Linked DNA regions of Homo sapiens: region 2 is linked to region 1. The links are contacts of gene promoters, found by promoter capture Hi-C in blood cells and fetal thymus (Javierre and others, 2016). All regions are on one chromosome and are shown on one strand. Each heading gives the region's core, a stretch centred on a gene start or on the middle of the fragment in contact. The rest is flanking DNA. Distances are from core to core; before and after follow the strand shown. Region 1 holds the start of CAGE1 (cancer antigen 1). Region 2 overlaps SMIM13 (small integral membrane protein 13).

Region 1 (4,565 bases), core at 1,284-3,783:
AATGTGTCTATTAGTAGGTATAAACAAAAAGTTTTTTCCCTATCCCTCTTCTCATTAAGAAAGTAGCAAAGTTCACTGCCCTTATTTGAAATGTCATTTGTCAAGTTATTAGAAAAATTAAAAATTTTAGTCTGAGTATACCGTAATTTGGTATGGTAGTAAATACTGATTTGGAGAAAAACAAACAGTATTGGCTACTATCCAATAACTCCCTAGAAGGCTTTGGACCTAGAAGTGAAGGGATCTCTGTGTTATTTAATCAAGGATATTTACAAAATATTATCAGAGACCTAATAGTTTCCACAAAATCCTGGATTTTTATTTACTTGATACCTTCCACTTGAACACCTCACTACCAAGTCAAACCCAGCATTGTAACTGTTTTCCCTCCTCACTTTCCTATACTGCGCCTATTCCCTCAGGTACATGTGTTTGAAAACTGGACTTGTCTTGGCATCCCTCTACCTCATCATGCATGGCTATTCAGATACCAAGTCCCGTCCATGTCTCCTTTAAAAATGTCTTTCAGGGCCGAGCGCGGTGGCTCACGCCTGTAATCCCAGCACTTTGGGAGGCCGACGCGGGCGGATCACGAGGTCAGGAGATCGAGATCATCCTGGCTAACACGGTGAAACCCCATCTCTACTAAAAATACAAAAAAAAAAAAAAAAAAAAATTAGCTGGGCGCGGTGGCGTGTGCCTGTAGTCCCAGCTACTCTGGAGGCTGAGGGAGGAGAATGGCGTGAACCCCGGAGGCAGAGCTTGCAGTGAGCCGAGATGGCCCACTGCACTCCAGCCTGGGTGACAGAGCAAGACTCCATCTCAAAAAAAAAAAAAAAAAAAAAAAGTCTTTCAGTAACCTGTGCTTTCTTTCCATCCCATGTTGCCACACTGGTCCATATTCTCCTGACTTCCTCAGGCCTGTCCAGAGCTCCAGAGCTGAGAGTGGAAAGGATGGCCACTCACATTGATTCTATAAATTTTTGTCCTTCCAGGCCATCCATAGCCTGGAGTGACATCCCCTACCCGGTACTCCCCTGCTCTACTCAGATCAGGCTCATTTCCCTGCAGACAGATAATGTTCCTTACGAATTAAGCTTCAGTCATCTGCCCTGGCACGTGCTTCTCTCCTAAAACCTTCCCATCTACCCATTCATCTATTTTCAAAATTCCTACAATGTCTTCAGTCTCTAAATCTCTATCTTACAATTCAGCACTTGGTGATTTCGTTTACTGTTTTAGAGCTTCACCACTGTTTCAAGGGTGTTAGTGTTTGTGTTTACAGATCATAAATGTCTTGAGAGGAGCATACTTAGGGCTTTCCAATATCCCCTACTGCAAATGGACCAGTGCTGTCTACACAGCAAATATTGATTGAATAAAACCTGCATTCCAATGACTTATTTCTATCAAGCTCTTTCAATTTATAGTCATTACTCATCTGCCTGGATTCTTTTATTGAATTTCTGAATGAATAGTTTATTGAAAATTAGTTGTTTTCAAACCTATGTCATCACTTGGTAAAATATAAAAAAGTAAGCCAAGCAGACCAGTCAGGATCAGTGAAAGGCCCAACTTTATGCTCACTTCTCCCTTGTCTTTCAAATAATGCTGCCTGGATTGTGGTGAGATCTGAAAAATTCTTGCTTTGTTTTCCCAATGCAAAAAAGCGCAAAGGCCTTGTTTCTTAGTTTTCTTGTTTGTGAACCCAGCACTTCCAATTACATTTCTACAACTTTGTTCATCCCTCATGTGGCACTGCACAATCTGCCAGTTTACCTTTTTAATTTAAAGTTAGACTATTTTTTCCATCTTTCATTTGTCCTTACAGGTTTATGTTGGATTTTTAACATATTTATCAAATGTTTGAATAGATGTTCCAGAGACATTCTAAAGCTGTTTTAAGATAGGAGTTAAAAGAGGTGTCACGGGAGTTACTCGCAAAAACTATAGTTTTGTTTAAAAGCTTTTTCAGTTGTAAGACAAACTTTACCTTTTTAAAAAGCACTTATCTCATTCATTTTTCACCTCAAAACGAGACACCAAACTTTTTAAGACACAAAAGTGTGCTCACTTCCAGGATCCATAGTTTCTTGGACCCACGCTACGGACCTGGCTCTCCCTCCCTCTGCACCGGGTTTTGTGGGAGGGAGAACGCTTTCCAACCTCCTCCACCAAGGACTCTCACAAACTCGCAATCGGGCTCCCGGAGTGCTGGAACGCCCCTGTGTGACGTCCGCCCGCGCCGGGGGAACTCCGCAGAGACAGGTGCAGCCCGCGAGGCCCGAGCGACCCTACTGTGGGTGCGGTGTCTTCCCAGAGAGTGGTGAAGTTAGGAAGGTACGACCCCCTAGGCCGAACAGCCTGTGGGCTAGCTGGCGCCTCCTGCCGCAGTAAACACAAAGTGGGGTACAGAAACGAAAACTCCGGGAAGAAACGGCCAGCACGGGCCTCGCCGTGCCGGCTACTCAACACGCCTTCCTGAGAGCACAGAACATCCACAGCCCTATACAGCGCGCCATCCAGAGAGCTCCGGACTCCCAGCTCGGCGCAGGGGCGGGACTTCCGCTCAAGTCAGACTTCCGGGCGAGGCGGTGAGGGGCTTCCGGTTGGGGTGGCAGGGTGGTGGATCTGTCGGTCCCGTTTTCCCGTCGCACGTGGTGGCCACTGTTGGCTTCTGAATGGTTTGCAAGGCGGATATCCACGCCAAGGCCTTTGGATCGGCCGTGGGTACATCCGTCTGAGCCGTTCCTTTCCATCGCAGAGCGGCGGCCTCCGGCGGCGCTCTCCAGTCATGGACTACCGGCGGCTTCTCATGAGCCGGGTGGTCCCCGGGCAATTCGACGACGCGGACTCCTCTGACAGGTAGGCGGCCGTACAGTGCCCTGGCTCTGGGTACGGCTCTCTCCTTGACCGCCCCCTTGGGGTGTGGACTCTTGTTTGCGGTTTAGAGGGAGACTAGTGGTTCATCACTCAGCGTCTCTCTTGACAACCCTTTGCCTGTTTCTGCATCCCAGCTGGGTTTTTCTCCCAGTTCACGCGGCAGAGTTAAGTGAAAGCTACTTGTCAAGGGAGTCTGCGGTTCTCAGGTCGGTTAGCGTCACTGGGAGGCAGAGTTGGGGATAGCGATTAGGAAACATGGGTTTTTGCGTTTTAACCACATTTAGCGTTCAACAAATACTTACTAAGCACTTAATATGTACCACGTTCTGTCCTGGGCGCCGGAGGTAACAAGAAGAACCAACTTCCTGCTGTCATGGAACTTTACCTTCTACGTGAAAGAGAGGGCACACCATTTAAAAACCAAATAATGATGTAGACTATGCAAATCGTTTGATATACCAAGTGGTGACTGAATGGGTAGGGAAAGGTTAAGTCCAGATTTGAATGACAAGGAGCTAATCCTGGCAAGAGCAGAGGGAACAGCATTTCACACAGAAGGGACAGCAAGAGCAAAGGCCCCGAGGCCAGAGTGCCTAGAGCACAGTGGAGGTAGTTGAGAAGATTGGTAGGGTGATAGAGAAGTAAGAAGGGGGGCCAGATCATGGAGACCTTTACAAGTGATGGTGAAAAGTTCAGATATTAATGTGGGTCTTATGGAAAGCCATAGGAGGGATTTTAGCAGAAGAATGACATTATTTGCTTGGTGATTTAAAGGAATCATTCTTTCTAGGTAGATGATGTTCATGGAGGGTGGGAGTGGAACAGAGAGACCAGTTCAAAAATAATAAGGTAATCAGATTCAAAGATGGTGGGGACTAGAGCCCAGATCCTAAAGATATGTCTTGGAGGTAGAAGTGGCAGCGTTTGGTGGTAGACTGGACGTGGAGTCTGGGGAAAGAGGGATGAAGGATAACTCCTGCCTAAAAGCAAAATGAAACATATTGGAGTTATTTTGGAATTCCAAGAAAACAGCTTGTACTTTATGTTTACAGTAAGGATTCATCACATGCGGATTTTGTTAATTATTGGGGATGTTTTCAATAAATATATGTATGTTGAATGCTTTCTGTGAGTCAGATCTAGTCTTAGGTGGTAGGGAGGCATTGGTAAATACCATCCTGAATGACACAGAGCTTGCACCCTAGCAGGGGAAACCGATATTATTAAATAATTAGACTATTTGTATTCGAATTGGGTAAGTAGTACAAAGGAGAAGTGGGGGAAAAATAGGGAAGACTTCCTTGAGCAAGTGATAGTGAGCTGATACTTGATGGATGAGTAGGGGTTAGCCAGAGAAAGAGGAAGGGCATTCCAGTTTTATGGTTACGGAGAAGTGTACAAAAAGCTTTAGAGAAGAAAAGCAGCAGAAGAAACACAGCCAGCATAGCTAGTGGGTAGTTAATGGTAATGAGAGGGCACTAATTTACCATCCACCCCAGGGTATTGTAAGGATACACCAGTGATTTTCCATTGGGGAAGATGTTGCCATCCCGACTTCTACCCAGGGGACTTTTGGCAATTTCTGGAGACGTTTTTGTATGTCACAGCTGGGGGTGGTGGTACATTAGTGGCATCTGGTAAGTAGAGGCCAGAGATATGCTGCTAAAAATCCTACAGTGCAG
Region 2 (4,565 bases), core at 821-3,320, 3.7 Mb after region 1:
TTTGTTGTGCTTTTCTGTAACACCAGGTTAAAGCTTCTAATTTACAGCCTTTCTTTTCTGATGAGATAAAGCAATTGAATAACCTTTCTCAATTTTCTGCTTGTGATATCAACAAGCAGAAGAATATTAGAATATTGAACTAATTGTAGATGTTTAAGGTTCTTGAAGTAAGGAAAACAAAATCCTTGTGATATGTTTGGATGTGGGGAAGGAGGGAAAGCATTTATTACCCTTTCTAGTTTGAAAATGCGAGCTACCTGGACATGGGAATGAATGTGACACGTAGACCCTACCATACCTTCACTAGGATATTTGCCAAATTTACCTTTATGGCTTCAGAAATCCAAATTGCTCTCTCATCTCTAAACAGCTGTTTGATGGTTTAATTATACACATTTTTCTAAAAGTGCTTTTAGTTTCAGAAACATTAAGGAATAAGAGAGATGAGGTGTGCTAGGACAGCAGTCCCCAACCTTTTTGGTACCAGGGACTTGTTTTGTGGAGAACAATTTTTCCACAGACGGAGCAGGGATGGTTTTGGGATAAAATTATTCCAGCTCAGATCATCAGGCATTAGTTAGATTCTCATAAGGAGCGAGCAACCTAGATCCCTCCTATGTGCATTTCACAATAGGGTTTGTGCTCCTATGAGAATCTGGTATGTCGCTGATCAGACAGGAGGCGGAGCTCAGATGGTAATACTTGCCTCCTGCAGGGAGGAGGGATCTGTGTGCTAGGGCTGGAGAGCCCTGTGCTAGGACACCTTAGTTTTTGGAATAGTCAAGAACTAAAAGCTCTATGATGAAGTGATCAATACTTTTTTTGTTGTTGTTGGGAGAACTGATGATGGAGTAGCCTCATCTTTTGACTAGGATGGGGCGGGAACTTGGGGAGAGGAGGCAAGGATCAGACCAGACTTAAGAGAGAAATTGGAGTGCGATATTAGTTTGCCAGGGCTGCCATGACAAAATACCAGAGACTGGTGGGTGGCTTAAACAACTCATTTCTTTTCTTTGTTTTGCTTTTTTTTTTCTTTTTTCTTTTTTTGAGTTGGAGTTTCACTCTCGTTGCCCAGGCTGGAGTGCAATGGCGTGATCTCGGCTCACCGCAACCTCTGCCACCCGGGTTCAAGCAATTCTTCTGCCTCAGCCTCCTGAGTAGCTGGGATCACAGGCATGCGCCTAGCTGATTTTCTGTTTTTAATAGAGATGGGGTTTCTCCATGTTGGCCAGGTTGGTCTCGAACTCCCAACCTCAGGTGATCCACCCGCCTCGGCTTCCCAAAGTGCTGGGATTACAGGCGTGAGCCACAGTGCCCGTCCCCAGTGCCTGGCTAATTTTGTATTTTTAGTAGAGATGCGGTTTCTCCATGTTGGTCAGGCTGATCTCGAGCTCCCGACCTCAGGTGATCTGCCCACCTCGACCTCCCAAAGTGCTGGGATTACAGGCATGAGCCACCCATGCCCAGCCAAACGCATTTATTTTTTTACAGCTCTGGAAGCTAAAAGTCAGAGATCAGCAGGGTTGATTTTCTCCTGAGGCTTCTCTCCTTGGCTTGTAGATGGTGGTCTTCTCCTTATGTCTTCACATAGTCTCTCCTTTGTGTGTTCTAATCTCTTTATAAGGACATCAGTCGCTGGATTATGGCTCCTCACCCTATGACTTTATTTAACCTTAATTACCTCTTTAAAAATCTTTATCTGCAGGCCGGGCATGGCGGCCCATGCCTGTAATCCCAGCCCTTTGGAAGGCAGAGGCAGGCAGATCACCTGAGATCAGGAGTTCGAGACCAGCCTGGCCAACATGGCGAATCCCCGTCTGTGCTAAAAAAAAAAAAAGAATACCAAAAATTTGCCGGGCATGATGGCACATGCTTGTAATCCCAGCTGCTCAGGAGGTTGAGGCAGGAGAACTGCTTGAACCCAGTAGGTGGAGGTTGCAGTGAGCCGACATTGCACCATAGCACTCCAGCCTGGGTGACAAGAGTGAAACTCCGTTTCAAAAAAAAAAAAAAAACCTTATCTCCAAATACCGTACAGTCACACTGGGGGTTAGGATTTCAACATATGAATTTGGATGGCACACGATTCACTCTATAACAAGCACCATGTCTTTAGCACTGGCTGAAAGCTAGGGAGTAGCTGTATGCCCATAAAACAGTTGTTTTTACCCTTCTAGCGGTCACAAGCCCTTTTGAGAGTCTGGTAAATGCTGTGAACCTTTCTTTTTTTTTAAAAAAGAAAAATTCACCCACATAACTTATCTGCTCCCTGCTCGCCGCCCCCCCACCCAATTTCTGAGATTTCATGGACTCCTCTTCCTTGAATACAAACATGGAGTTCAGATCAAGAGGCTCTGCTCTTTGGGCTGGGTCTCCTGTTTTCTTATTTCATTCAGTTCAACAAACTGAATATTGAGTGTCTACCAGGAACTGGGAACACAGTTCCTGTCCCTAGGAATTTATGTAGTTTTCTCTAGAGCTCTGACAGACTCCTTCACCTAGTGAATTCTGATGTCCAAAGTTCAGATTCCTAGGCAGGTTTCCCTTCTGTCTACATTGGTTGTCTCTGCTTTCTCACCTCTCATTCATTCCAAGGTGTTTTCTACCCCCACTATTCAGTGATGCTGCTGTTGTCAAAGTCAGTAACAGATGGCCTCCATATTACCCAGCCTGTGGTGGTCGCTTCTTAGTCCTAACTGAGCTTAAATTGTCATATTCATTCCTTACAGTTAAGTGATGTCTGCTAGAAACATTTAACGTTTCTTTTATTTACTTTTTTTGAGATGGAGTTTTGCTCTTGTTGCCCAGGCTGGAGTACAGTGGTGCAATCTTGGTTCACTGCAACTTCTACTCCTGGGTCTAAGTGATTCTCCTGCCTCAGCCTCCTGAGTAGCTGAGATTACAGGTGTCAGCCACCATGCCCAGCTAATTTTTTGTATTTTTAGTAGTGACGGGGTTTCACCATGTTGGCCAGGCTTGTCTTGAACTCCTGACCTCAGGTGATCCACTTGCCCCGGGCTCCCAGGGTGCTGGGACTACAGGCATGAGCCACCATGCCGGGTCCATTCAACATTTCTTTGGCTTTTATATACTGTATTTCCATGATGTTCTTCCTACCACAGTGGCTATTATTTTTTCTTAGCTTCTTCTCATTCCCTAGAATTTTCTTTTTTTGACCACAACCTACAATAGAAAATAGATTATTCCTAATATGTTCATAAGTGTACAGATTACATGTGTTAGTCCATTAATACATCTATTTACTTATCATCGATCTCTGAAATAAAATGTTTATGGACTAGTACTTGCCTACTTGCCCTTACTGTATGAGAAGATTCTATTTTTTTCTATTATGTTTCTATAATATACTGCAAATACATTTCCCTTTTCTTTTACTCCCCAAGGTCTCCTATCCAGTCCTAGAGATTTAAATGTCTGCTCTAGCTAATGACTCAAAAATTTGTTTCTCTAACTCTTATGTCTCTCCTGAGACCCAGGCTCAATGCATCAGACTTTTTTTTTTTGAGACGGAGTCTAGCTCTGTCGCCAGGCTGGAGTACATTGGCGCGATCTCGGCTCACTGCAACCTCCACCTCCTGGGTTCAAGGGATTCTTCTGCTTCAGCCTCCCGAGTAGCTGAGATTATAGGCGCCCGCCACCACACCCGGCTGGTTTTTGTATTTTTAGTAGCGATGGGGTTTCACCATGTTGGCCAGGATGGTCTCAATCTCCTGACCTCGTGATCCACCCGCCTCAGCCTCCCAAAGTGCTGGGATTACAGGTGTGACCCACCGTGCCTGGCCCATACTACATGTTTTACTTGTCCATCATCTGTCTCCCACACTAGAGGGTAAGGCCCAATGAGGGCAGGCATTTTGTTTTCTTCACTACTATATCCCTGACACCTACAGAAGTGTCTGGCACATAGTAGACACTCAATAAACATTTGTTCAACAAATGAATAGATGAATGCTGCAGAATACCCAAGCTCCTACAAATGAAACACCTGATATGCCCAATGGAGATCTCAATACAACAGATAAGAGTTTATTTCAATTCTGTTACTCCAGTTCTCCTAGTGGTGAGGGTAGAGGTAGAGAAGCATCATAAGCTTTACAGACCTAAATAGCCACTATATATTTTTAGACATTATTAACCGTGGTAGATGCTCCATCCATTTCTTTCTCTGCTTGCCATTGATAATACATTTAGCTGACTTAATAGTGTGGATTTATATTTTGACTCTGTAAACATTATTCTCTGCTGGTTAAATAGTGTAATATGACCACACTTTCATTTTTACATGGTTCTTCAATTTTTTGAAGTTAATACATAATTGCCTTTTTAGCTTACCTAGTATTACTTTGGTACATTGTTTTTTTGTTTTTGTTTTTGTTTTTGTTTTTTTTGAGAGGGAGTCTCACTCTGTTGCCCAGGCTGGAGTCCAGTGGCGTGATCTCGGCTCACTGCAGCCTCCACCTCCTGGATTCAAGCGATTCTCCTGCCTCAGCCTCCCGAGTAGCTGGGACTACAGGTGCCTGCCACCATGCCCAGCTAATTTTTTG

Evidence for each region. The method cuts DNA at HindIII sites, captures the fragments that hold promoters and counts their contacts. A CHiCAGO score of 5 or more calls a contact.
Region 2: a contact is called between a fragment that was not itself captured here and the fragment with the promoter of CAGE1 in region 1, in 1 of 17 cell types (total CD8 T cells). The highest score is 5.7, in total CD8 T cells.

Annotation. Positions count from the first base shown.
Region 1 is chr6:7,387,209-7,391,773 of GRCh38, forward strand. CAGE1 (cancer antigen 1) reads right to left here and starts at 2,534. Exons shown (of 14, transcript NM_001170692.2): 1 at 1,994-2,534. It overlaps RIOK1 (RIO kinase 1), which reads left to right and starts at 2,600. Exons shown (of 17, transcript NM_031480.3): 1 at 2,600-2,865. The coding sequence starts at 2,795. RefSeq lists enhancers at 2,213-2,272, 2,283-2,332, 2,463-2,882, 2,486-3,272. The HindIII fragment of the contact is 2,322 bases long and covers 1,965-4,286 here.
Region 2 is chr6:11,095,670-11,100,234 of GRCh38, forward strand. The region is part of intron 1 of SMIM13 (small integral membrane protein 13); the gene reads left to right. Among named protein-coding and RNA genes, the nearest start is that of SMIM13, 4.1 kb to the left of the region's middle. RefSeq lists a silencer at 712-791. The HindIII fragment of the contact is 4,078 bases long and covers 32-4,109 here.